Regions from separate parts of the Homo sapiens genome. Here all the other regions are linked to region 3. The links are contacts of gene promoters, found by promoter capture Hi-C in blood cells and fetal thymus (Javierre and others, 2016). All regions are on one chromosome and are shown on one strand. Each heading gives the region's core, a stretch centred on a gene start or on the middle of the fragment in contact. The rest is flanking DNA. Distances are from core to core; before and after follow the strand shown.

What was found. Contacts are between HindIII fragments. The CHiCAGO score rates a contact against its expected background, and 5 or more counts as called.
Region 1: a fragment that was not itself captured here is called in contact with the fragment with the promoter of UBXN4 in region 3 in 1 of 17 cell types (erythroblasts); the score reaches 5.4 in erythroblasts.
Region 2: a fragment that was not itself captured here is called in contact with the fragment with the promoter of UBXN4 in region 3 in 9 of 17 cell types (M0 macrophages, naive CD4 T cells, activated CD4 T cells and 6 more); the score reaches 8.1 in M0 macrophages.
Region 4: a fragment that was not itself captured here is called in contact with the fragment with the promoter of UBXN4 in region 3 in 3 of 17 cell types (non-activated CD4 T cells, erythroblasts and naive CD8 T cells); the score reaches 7.0 in non-activated CD4 T cells.

Annotation. Positions count from the first base shown.
Region 1 is chr2:135,220,714-135,223,565 of GRCh38, reverse strand. The region is part of intron 15 of ZRANB3 (zinc finger RANBP2-type containing 3); the gene reads left to right. Among named protein-coding and RNA genes, the nearest start is that of SNORA40B, 86 kb to the right of the region's middle. RefSeq lists a silencer at 61-225. The HindIII fragment of the contact is 1,869 bases long and covers 511-2,379 here.
Region 2 is chr2:135,139,877-135,142,576 of GRCh38, reverse strand. The region is part of intron 17 of RAB3GAP1 (RAB3 GTPase activating protein catalytic subunit 1); the gene reads right to left. Among named protein-coding and RNA genes, the nearest start is that of SNORA40B, 4.6 kb to the right of the region's middle. The HindIII fragment of the contact is 1,021 bases long and covers 901-1,921 here.
Region 3 is chr2:135,740,429-135,743,221 of GRCh38, reverse strand. UBXN4 (UBX domain protein 4) reads right to left here and starts at 1,367. Exons shown (of 13, transcript NM_014607.4): 1 at 1,211-1,367. The coding sequence starts at 1,292. It overlaps LOC107985946 (a long non-coding RNA gene), which reads left to right and starts at 578. Exons shown (of 1, transcript NR_163478.1): 1 at 578-2,393. RefSeq lists a silencer at 780-829 and enhancers at 126-901, 1,230-1,289, 1,620-1,749. The HindIII fragment of the contact is 10,462 bases long and covers 1-2,793 here.
Region 4 is chr2:135,159,643-135,162,342 of GRCh38, reverse strand. All of the region lies in intron 19 of RAB3GAP1 (RAB3 GTPase activating protein catalytic subunit 1), which reads right to left. Among named protein-coding and RNA genes, the nearest start is that of SNORA40B, 24 kb to the right of the region's middle. The HindIII fragment of the contact is 6,425 bases long and covers 1-2,700 here.

The DNA.
Region 1 (2,852 bases), core at 196-2,695, 520 kb after region 3:
ACCTGAGGTCAGGAGTTTGAGAGCAGCCTGGCCAACGTGGTGAAACCCCCCACCTCTACTAAAAATATGAAAATTAGCTGGGTGTGGTAGCAAGTGCCTTTAATCGTAGCTACTCAGGAGGCTGAGGCAGGAGAATCGCTTGAACCTGGGAGGCAGAGGTTGCAGTGAGCCAAGATCGCGCCACTGCACTCCAGCCTGGGTGACAAAATGAGACTCTGTCTCAAAAAAAAAAAAATGTTTTTTTCATTTATTCACTTAAATGTGAATAATTAACAATTACATTTTTCTATTTCTGTTTTGTATTTTTTGTTTTTTTTAGGACAGTCTCGCTCCGTTGCCCAGGCTAGAGTGCAGTGGTGCAATCTCGGCTCACTGCAACCTCTGCCTCCTGGGTTCAAACGATTCTCCTGCCTCAGCCTCCAGGTAGCTGGGACTACAGGTGCCCACCACCATGCCTGGCTAATTTTTGTATTTTTAGTAGAGATGATGTTTCACCATATTGGCCAAGCTTGTCTCGACCTCTTGACCTTGTGATCCACCCACCTCAGCCTCCCGAAGTGCGGGGATTACAGGTGTGAGCCACCCACCTGGCCGTTTTTTGTTTGTTTGTTTGTTTTTGGAGAGAGAGGGTCTTGCTGTGTTGCCCAGACTGGTCTCAAACTCCTGGGTTCAAACAGTCCGCCCGCCTCAGCCTCCTAAAGTGCTAGGATTATAGGCGTGAGCCACTATGCCTGGCCAACAATTATTTTTAAGTGAGTAAATGCATATTTTAAGAGAAACAAACCCATTATATATATATAAAAATAACATTTTTTATTTAAAATAATTATATTTTCCAAGTCAAAAAAATATTTAGTGAGAAGAATGTCATTGTTTTAAATGTTTAGCAATTTTCTCTAAAGTCTTAATGGAAAACAGTGGGATTCCCATATCCATCTCTGCGTTCAGTTTGTTGAGATAGCATTTCATGTAGCCACTGGAAAAAGTCACCATACATTTGTGAAAGAATGAGAGTGGAAAAGGCAAACAGTATCTTACTATTAGTATGAAAACACTTATGACTTTCTGAAAGGATCACAGGAACCATGTGAGAATCTATGGCCTGGATAGATTATGAATACTTTTATTTGGTCTAAAATTTTAAATTTCTTTTTTTTTTTTTTTGAGACTGAGTCTAGCTCTGTCACCCAGGCTGGAGTGCAGTGGTGCGATCTCGGTTCACTGCAACCTCTGCCTCCCAGGTTCAAGTGATTCTCCTGCCTCAGCCTCCCGAATAGCTGGGATTGCAGCACCCACCACCACACCTAGCTAATTTTTCTATTTTTAGTAGAGACAGGGTTCCACTGTGTTGTCTAGCCTGGTCTTGAACTCCTGACTTCGTGATCTGCCTGCCTCAGCCTCCCAAAGTGCTGGGATTACAAACGTGAGCCACCACGCCCAGCCTAAAATTTTAAATTTCTAATCTTTATAAGTATATAAGATAGTATTTGAAACTTTTAAAACTCATGGTCCATTATATCGATGTTTAAAAGATAATATGTTGGAGATGACCAAACTTTCAGTTACAGGTTTTCTACTAAACCGAATATAGATATAGATAGATAGTGTACCATGTAATAATATTCTTTTAGGAGGAGATGGCTAGGATTTTGAATACCAGAATCCCCAAGCAGCCTCTAGCATGGACAATAACTGAGAGAGAGACACCAAGAACCAAGCCAGGCAGTAATCAATGCTCCTCTTATAGGTTTGGAGCCTGGTCTACCAAGTGGAGCCTCTGACATGGTGAACCAGGCTGCAGGGAGCACCAATGACTCCTTTATTCATCTTGAGGCAGGTTTAAGTGCCTGAGCCACCCTCATGCCCCATGTTGGGGGATCTTTAGGCCATGCCTCTTTCTCAGACCATCACATGAGAGGGACAGAGAAATGGTCCCAAGAGGGTAGAGAAACCAAAGGACAGACACCAGGCAGAGCATACCACAGAAATCCAGAAGCCCTTAAATTCTTTAATCTTTTTTTACTCTATACAATGAAAGCTCTGCCTCTTGGATTACCTGATCAATGTTTTATCCCCGTTGGGGTGGAGACGGAGAGAACTGCAAGCTCCTGGTAGAGGGTATAATGCACCTGCTGCCAAACCAAACCACAGCGACCACCTCACTGACCCGTATTCAGGCTCTGCCACCAGCCTAGTAGCCTGCTTCTTCTTGACATCTCTGTTAATGGTCTCAAATATATTTTTATGACTGTTCTAAATACTTACATGTCCCTTTACCATAAAATGTTATCACCCAAATAATTTTCCAAACACAAGACACTAAGCAGATGAGTTGTTGACATATCTTTTCACAACCAGAGTAGAGCTGAGATGAAAGCTTTCCTTTTCACCTTAAAAGAGCTGAAGTAAGGCTGGGCACAGTGGCTCACACCTGTAATCCCAACACTCTGGGAGGCCGAGGCAGGCGGATCACCTGAGGTCAGGAATTCGTGACCAGCCTGGCCAATATGGTGAAACCCCGACTCTACTAAAAATACAAAAATTATCTGGGCATGGTGGCAGGCACCAGTAATCCCAGCTACTTGGGAGGCTGAGGCAGGAGAATCGCTTGAACCCGGGAGGTACAGGTTGCAGTGAGCCAAGATCGTGCCACTGCACTCCAGCCTGGGCAAAAGAGTGTGACTCTGTCTCAAAAAAAAAAAAAAAATAAATTCCTAGTTCACTGCCTAAAAGGATATCCCTTTAAAGGAAGAGTAGTAACAGACATTTAGCATCCTGTGTCATATTAGAACTGTTCATTTCAGCTAGAATCCCAAGTCTATATCAGGGTTTAGAATTACATATCAATTTTT
Region 2 (2,700 bases), core at 162-2,661, 600 kb after region 3:
AATAATGTCCAGTATTCAACACTGTACTGGAGGTCCTAGCCACTGCAATAAGATAAGAAAAGTAATTCAAAAGCATAAAGATTGCAAAATCAGAATTCAAATCATCTTTACTAAAAGACGACATGATTGTGTATGTAGAAAACTCCAAATAATCTCTAAACTACTAATAAGTCAATGTAGCAAGATTGTTATATCCAAGGTCAATATATAAAAATCAACTGTTTATATCTATCAAGGGAAAAAAATTGGAAAATGAACTTTTAAAATACCATTTATAAAACCATTTAAGAAATTACAAATACCTTGGAAATATATCTAATGAAAGATATGTAAGACCTCTACATTGAAAACTAAAACACTAATGAGATAAATGAACAGAAACTTTAAATAAAATTGAAGATATTTAATGGACTCAATATTAAGATGTCAATTCTCCATAAATTGATCTACAAATTCAATGCAATCTGAATTAAAATCCCAGCAAGATTTTGAATATGTGTTTGTTTATAAAAATTAACAAGCTGATTCTCAAATTGATATAACAATGCAAAGGACCTAGAATAGCTAAGATAATGTTGAAGAGTAACAAAGTTAGAAGATTTACACTACCAGATAGACTTATTATAAAGCTACAATAATGATGACAGTACATTACTGGCACACGACAGAGACCAACGGAACAGAATAAATAGTCCAGAAATAGACCAAAACACATACAGTTGCTTGATTTACATCAAAGATATCACTGCCACTCAATGGGAAAAGGCAGATCTTTTCAACAGTGGTGGTGGAACAATTCAATCTCCCTATAGAGAAAAGAGAATCTTAACCTGTTCCTCTTACCAAACAATTAATTTGAGGTGGGTCACAAACAAATGATATAGGTAAAACAATAAAGCTTCCAAAAGAAAAGAAAATATCTTCAGTACTTGGTAAAGAGTTCTTAAGCAGAACACAAAAAGCACTAACCACATAAGAAAAACAAGGATAGATGAGACTGTATTAAAATTAAGAACACCTCTTCAACCCAAGGCATCATTAAGAAAGTGAACAGGCCAGGCGCGGTGGCTCACACCTATAATCCCAGCACTTTGGGAGGCCCAGACAGGCAGATCACGAGGTCAGGAGTTCGAGACCAGCCTGGCCAACATAGTGAAACCCCATCTCTACTAAAAATACAAAAAATTAGCCAGGTATGGTGGCACACTCCTGTAGTCCCAGCTACTCGGGAGGCTGAGGCAGGAGAATCGCTTGAACCCGGAAGACTCAGGCTGCAGTGAGCCGAGACCACACCACTGCACTCCAGCCTGGATGACAGAGTGAGACTGTCTCAAAAAAAAAAAAAAAAGAAGTAAGTGAATAGATAAGCAACAAAATATTTGCAATACAAGTATCTAAGGACTCATATCCAGAATATATGAAGAATTCCTATAAAGTAATAAGAAAAAAAAAGACAACTGCTTTAAGAAAAAAATAGGCAAAGGCCTTGAACAGGCTTTTCACCAAGAAGATAGACAAATGGGCAATAAATATATATATGCTTCAGGAAAATGTAAAACCACAAGATCCTACCTCCTACCCTTCAGAAAGGCAAAAATTAAAATGACCAAAAATATCAAGTGTGCAGAAAAGAGTTAATATTGCAGGTCTGAGACTGCCATTCTTAGAAAGGCCTGCTTGAAAGTTGGCCCTTGGCTGGCAGCTGAGAACCTGGATTTTGAGAAGGTTCCCACCATTCCCAGAACTGATAAAAATGACTCACTATGCCTAAACACTTTGTGCAAATAATATGGTTTATGCTAAACACCTACTTTCTTTATGGGAGTCTAGATTTTGGTATGGTTAACCCTATGCCTAAGCAAAGGATGCCTACTTGACCAGCCCCTACTGATAACTCCCACTGCTGTGCCTCTAACAAGCTTCCCAGGGAAGACAACATTTCACACATGTGGTCACAATTTGTTGCAACAGGAATTAAGTGCACTCTGTGTAACTACAGTAGGGGAAGCTTTTTGGAAGCTTAAACCTCATCTCTTTCAAACTTCATCCCATGTGCCTTTTCTCTTTGCTGATCTTCTTGTAATAAATTATAGCCACGAGCATGATTATGGGCTAAGTCTTATGAGTCTTCCTAGAAAATCACTAAACCTGGGAGTGGTCTTGAGAACACATCAAATGGGGAGGATTCTGTAGAATAACTATACTACTATAAATTGTTGGTGAGAAGGTTAACTAGTTCAACCACTTAGACAGACTATTTAGATAGATCTACTAAAGCCAAAACATATTTGCACCATATAGCCCAATAACTCTACTCTTAGGAATATATCCAAAAGAAAATGAGTGCCTTTGTCTACCAAAAGAAACAAGAATGTTCACAGCAGCTTTATTCATATTAGCCCAAAGTGAAAACAACCCAAATACCCATCAACGGGTGAATGGATAAACAAATTGTGACAAATTCATAGAATAGAATACTAATAACACATGCACAAACACTGAAGCCTGCAACAACAAGGATGACTCTCAAAATCGGTAAATAAAAAAGCTCAATGGTATATAATGTATGATTATACAACGAAAGAGTACACAATGTATGATTACATTTATATACAAAAGAGTAAGCAAAGCATGCCATTTAAAAGGTTCAAAAACTGACAAAGCTAACCTATGGTGACAAAAGTTAAGAGAAAGAGTTGC
Region 3 (2,793 bases), core at 118-2,617:
CAATTATAAATTCCAAATTTAATGCTAAATGACATTCACATTTCAGTAATTCGTTCTTCACTGCAGTGCATAAAGTTATAGAGCTATTAAAAGACGAGTTAATTATGAATAAACCGTTATTAAACACAAATAGTTGAAGAAATACACCTCAAATTAACAACAGCCACAAACATTGATTTGGTCCATGTAATGAGTATGAGCAGAACCGTAGAGGCAGGGAGTTCACTGTAAATCTACAAGATTTCAGTAATAAAACAGGAGAATATGGAGCAAAATAGCCTAGAGCAACAGAGAATATATGAGTTAATAAACGTTCTCAAAGTCGTGTAGATTTTAGCCTAAGAAGACAACAAAGGGAAGAAACCAAGGACTGAACGTCTATTTTCTTTGAAACTAATGGATTTTTTTTAAACTTACATTATTTCACACTAGATCCCCTACCAAGACTGCCATAAAGAAAAATTAAACCTCTATTCAGCTCAAAAGTTTACGTTTCAGGAACGTACTAACACCAGTAACCGTGAACATCAGGTGGTTTCTCTTTGTTGCTTATCGATGACACAGCTTTCTTCCCGACAGTCCACAACTAATTACAACCCAACTGCTTGCCTAATGGCCCGTTCCTACCTCCATCTAAACAGCAGTAACGAAACGGGCGTTCAAGCAGCACAAAGAGGGTCCTTGGTGACAGAGAGGGACGTCAGGGAGAGGGTCGCGGGGGTCTGGCTGCGCAGGGGAGAGGCTCGGGGCGACGAGCGGGGCTGGGCGGCTGGGGCCTGCTGGCCGCGTCCGTCGCCCCGAGCGGGGAGATTTCGGCGGGCCTCGGGGCGCTTTGGAGACCAGGGCCAGACGGTGCCTCCGGCCCGGCTGCCGGGAGACGCAGCGGTGGGGCCAGGCCCACTGTATCTCAAACGAACCGGGGAGGCGCTGAACAGCCACGGGCCGGCAGCCCGGGCCTCGCAGACACTGAGGAAAGGCTGGGGGCGCCCGGGGCCTGAAGGAGCAGGGCGCTGAGGGTCTGCATGGCCCCTCTGGGGGATCTGGCGGCGGAGTCGCAGCCGTCCCTGGGGCGCGGGGTAGTAGTGGCAATTGTGCGAGCCGACAGGAGCCCGCGTCTCGGGGAGGGCGGGCCGGCGGCTGAGGTATACAAGAGGATGAAGGTAGGCCGGAGGGGTGTCCCGGCCGCCTCTCGAACCCCTGCCTCCTTCACCTGCCACGAACACCACGAAGACCGCGCCGCTCCTTTTGGCCGTCGCGATGGCGGCCGGAATGGCGCCCTGGAACCACAGCATCGCTCCCTTCGGGCCCAGGCGCTCGCTCGGTGTGTAGTCTCCGCAGTCCCGAAGCCGGCTCCGCCCTCCGTCTTCGTCCGGCTCTGCGGCCCCCGCAACCTTGGCTGGTTCGGCCCCCACCTCCGGCTCCGCACAAGCGCGCACGCCCGTCAGCGGCACCCGGAGACGCGCGCTAGCGCGCGCGAGAACACCTCACGTCACAGTCGCAACCCGTCGGTGTCCGTGCCCCAGGACCTTCTCTCGTTGGCGAGTCGATGGTGCGGGCGCGCGCCCGCTAGGCCTCCGGTCGCGCAGTCCAGGAAGTGGAGGAAAGCGGTAAGAGGGATGACTAACCGCTAAGACACGTCGGCGGCGCCTGCAGTGAGGCATGATGGGAATTGTAGTCCACTTAGGCTTATTCGCCTCCATATTGTGGAGCATGTAACTGTGGGTTCTGAGGCACAGCTAAAGGGGGCAGTAGTGAGGGCCACTACACATTCTATAAAGGGGAGAGGGAGAAATAAGTGTCACTCCAACTGGCATATGCTATTCTCGGCCTCGTTGAGACTCTCAGTGTGGAGGAAATAGTCCTCGCATGGAACTAAATGGGCTTTGTCGGGATTAACTCCGAGGCTTTGATTTCTTCTGAACGTAGCCCAACCTTGCAGAAAAACGGGATAAAAACCGCAAGTCACCTTCTTTAATAACCTGTAGTCCATGTGCCTAAGCGGAGGAATTGGTAGAACGCAGGCCTTCAGCAATTTCCTAGACACTGGATAGAGATCATTTCAAAACTTCAAAACGCGTTAGGCTATTGCCACAGCTACTTTTTAAAGTAACACAAAGCAGAGAATAGATTATTTCTTTTCCAGCTACTTTCCATGGTAATACAAAAGAGACTAGATAGTGATTTATTTTCCAATTTTCTGGGAGAATGTCCTATAATCAAGATGTGGCGCTTTGTGATTGGCTGCCATTAAATGAAAACTGATCCATATTTAATACTTTCATGAAATCACATGGTCTGTAATAACTATTAGCTAAAGGCTTGCATGGTTTATTTAAAGTTGCATATACTATTATGTTAAATTCTACATCAATTAAATTTATCCTCCAGCAGTACATCTATCTGACAATCTTTGCAAGATAAAGGAAGTGATACATCTGAATATACCACCTTTCCTACAGATATTTTCCCTAAAAATAGCTAATTATTTGCACTCCGATTTTTGTACTTTTTTTCCCAATCAGGCCTCTCGTATATAGTGTTATTATAAACTGAGACATAATGCTGATTAGGGACAGTTGCTTCTATAGGACAACAATCCTACAGAAAAATTAGAATTGACCTTTAACATCAACTTTAATGGACTTCTGGAAATTTGATCAATCTAGAAATTATTCCAATAGAGCTATGTCTTTAATTATCTCTAATTTTAGAATTAAATAAGAATCCTTCATAGTTTTATATTCATTTGTCAAGTGTTTATCACTCATCTTTTATGAGCTAGGCATTGTGCCT
Region 4 (2,700 bases), core at 1-2,500, 580 kb after region 3:
CTTTCTTATGTAATACACACAAATAAGGAAAATACAAAGAAAATAAAAACTACCGACTGATTACAATACCAAGAGAAAACAACCATTGACAGTGGAGCATTTTCATTTTAAGACGCAGAATACACGTACTAAGGGCACTAATATTAAATATGTAAAATACTGCCTTTTAACCTGCTTTTCTCACTTAATATTTCTAAACATTGTTAGTGACTTCCCACACATTTTTTGGTTTTAGTTGTTTTGGTTTATTTTTTTTCCAATTCTTATTATAAGAATACAGAGAAGTATGTACAAAACATGGACCCTACCTTTAGGCTCCTTATTCAACAGTAAAGATAAAAGAAGTATAACCCTATAAATATGTACAATTCTTTTACATCAATAAAAATTTTAAGAAGTATAATCTCATAATGTGAGTCTGACTGATAAATGCTCATGGATTTCAAAATTTTAAAAAAAATACAGGTGATGCAGAAATTTTCCTGAAATCCTACTTCCCCAAAACCACATTTTCGTGTTTATCCTCTCAAACTACTTGTATGTCCATTTAAACACAAAAATGTAGATGCATATGTAATTTCTTAACAAAAATTAATAACTTACATACTGTTTTATTATTTGCTTTATTTAATGACTTGTGGTGGACTTTTTTTTGGCTTAGAGAGTTTTGTCTGATTTGAAACTTTTTTTAAATTAAGAAATATACATACTAGAGTATTAGAAATAGTTTAAAGAAAACACCAGCTTAGGAAACAGAATGTTACCAGGCTTTTCCAAGTCCTCCTGTGTACCCTCCATCCCCAGAATTAACTACAAATCATTCTTTTGCTTTTCTTTATGGTTTTTTTCACATATGTAGCCTTAAATAATATATTGTTTACTTTTGTCTAGTTTTAACCTTTATATTAATGGAGTGTTTCTGTTTATAGCCCTCAGTGACTTGCTTTTTTTCATTCAGTATTTTGATATTCGTATACCATTCCAATATGCTATAGTTTACTCATTTTCACTGCTGTATTAAAATGTTCCTACACTAATAGTAGTGGATAGCTCCTCAGTTTTTGGCTATTACAAATGATGCTCCTATTACATTATTGCACATATTTCCTGGTGCAAATGGGACATGTACAGCAATTACTTTAGGATATATACCTAACAATTGAACTAGGAAATGTACAACATAATTATCCTACAAAGTGTTTCAACAGATTTACATTCTTATCTAGAGTAATGAGTTCCCTCTGTTGTACATCCTTGCTAATACCCACCTTTCTGAATTTTGTTTTCCCCTGATTCACAGAAAAACAAATTTGCAGGAATAACGTGAAATATGTGATTCCCCTTTACCTGGATTCACGTATGACCTGTCTCCCTCCTCTGTTCTGGATCCCTTGCATCTTTCTCTGCTTTCATGTGTGTACATACTATAGACATAAACTTGTTTCGAATAATTTCAGAATAAGTCGCACACTCATGTCCCTTATCCCAAAATATCTGTATTTCCTAAAATTAAAAATATTTTATTATATAATCAAAATGCAAATGATTCTGATTATATACAATAAATTTAACACTGATAAAAATAATTGTAATCTAACCTACTATCTTTATTGCAGTTTTGTCAACTGATCCCATATGTGTCTTTTTTTTTTTTTTTTTTTTTTTTTTGAGACAGGGTCTTTCTCTGTTGGCCCAGACTGGAGTGCAGTGGTGCGATCTTGGCTCCCCACAACCTCCGCCTCCCAGGCTCAAGCGATTCTCCTGCCTCAGCCTCCTGAGTAGCTAAGACTACAGGCACATGGCCACTACTGCCCGGCCAATTTTTGTATTTTTAGTAAAGACGGAGTTTCACTATGTTGGCCAGGCTGGTCTCGAACTCCTGACCTCAAATTATCCACCTACCTCAACCTCCCAAAGTGCTGAGATTACAGGCATGAGCCACCGCGCCCGGCCGCAAAATGTGTCTTTTATGACCCTTTCCCTCAACCACTACAAGTCTTGGTAAGGATCATCCATTGCCTTTAGTTATCATAGCTCTTTAATCTCAACTAATCTGCAACAGCTTTTCACTCTGTCTTTTATAACATTGGCATTTTGAGTATAGTTTCCTCTTCCTCCCTACTTTTTGGCTAACTAAAATTCCATACTGTATTCAGATTTCCTTAGTTTCTAAAAATTGAGTTATAACTCACATACCATAAAATTCACCACTTTAAAATGGATAACTTCAGTGGTTTTTAGCATATTTGCAAGGTTATGTTACCATCACCATTATCTAATTCCAGAATATTTTCTTTCATCTCCCCCAAAAGAAACCCAGTACCCCAAAGCAGCCACTCCTGATTTCCCCCATTCCTAATCTCCACTGCTGCCAACTACTAATCTAACTTACTGTCTCTATGGACTTGCCTATTCTGGTCCTTTCATATAAATGGAACGACGCAACATGCAGCCCATTGTTTTCTGGCTGCTTTCACTGAGCATAATATTTTCAAGATTCACCCATGTTGTAACACATATCAGTGCTTCATTCCTTTTTATGGCTGAATAATACTCCATTGCATGGACAGACCATATTTGTCTTATCTGTTCATCACTGACAGACATTTGGGTTTGTTCCATTTTTTGGCTGTCATGAATAATGCTGTCAGCATGTATGTATGTACGCGGTTTCCTTAGTTTTTATCTAATGTCATTTTC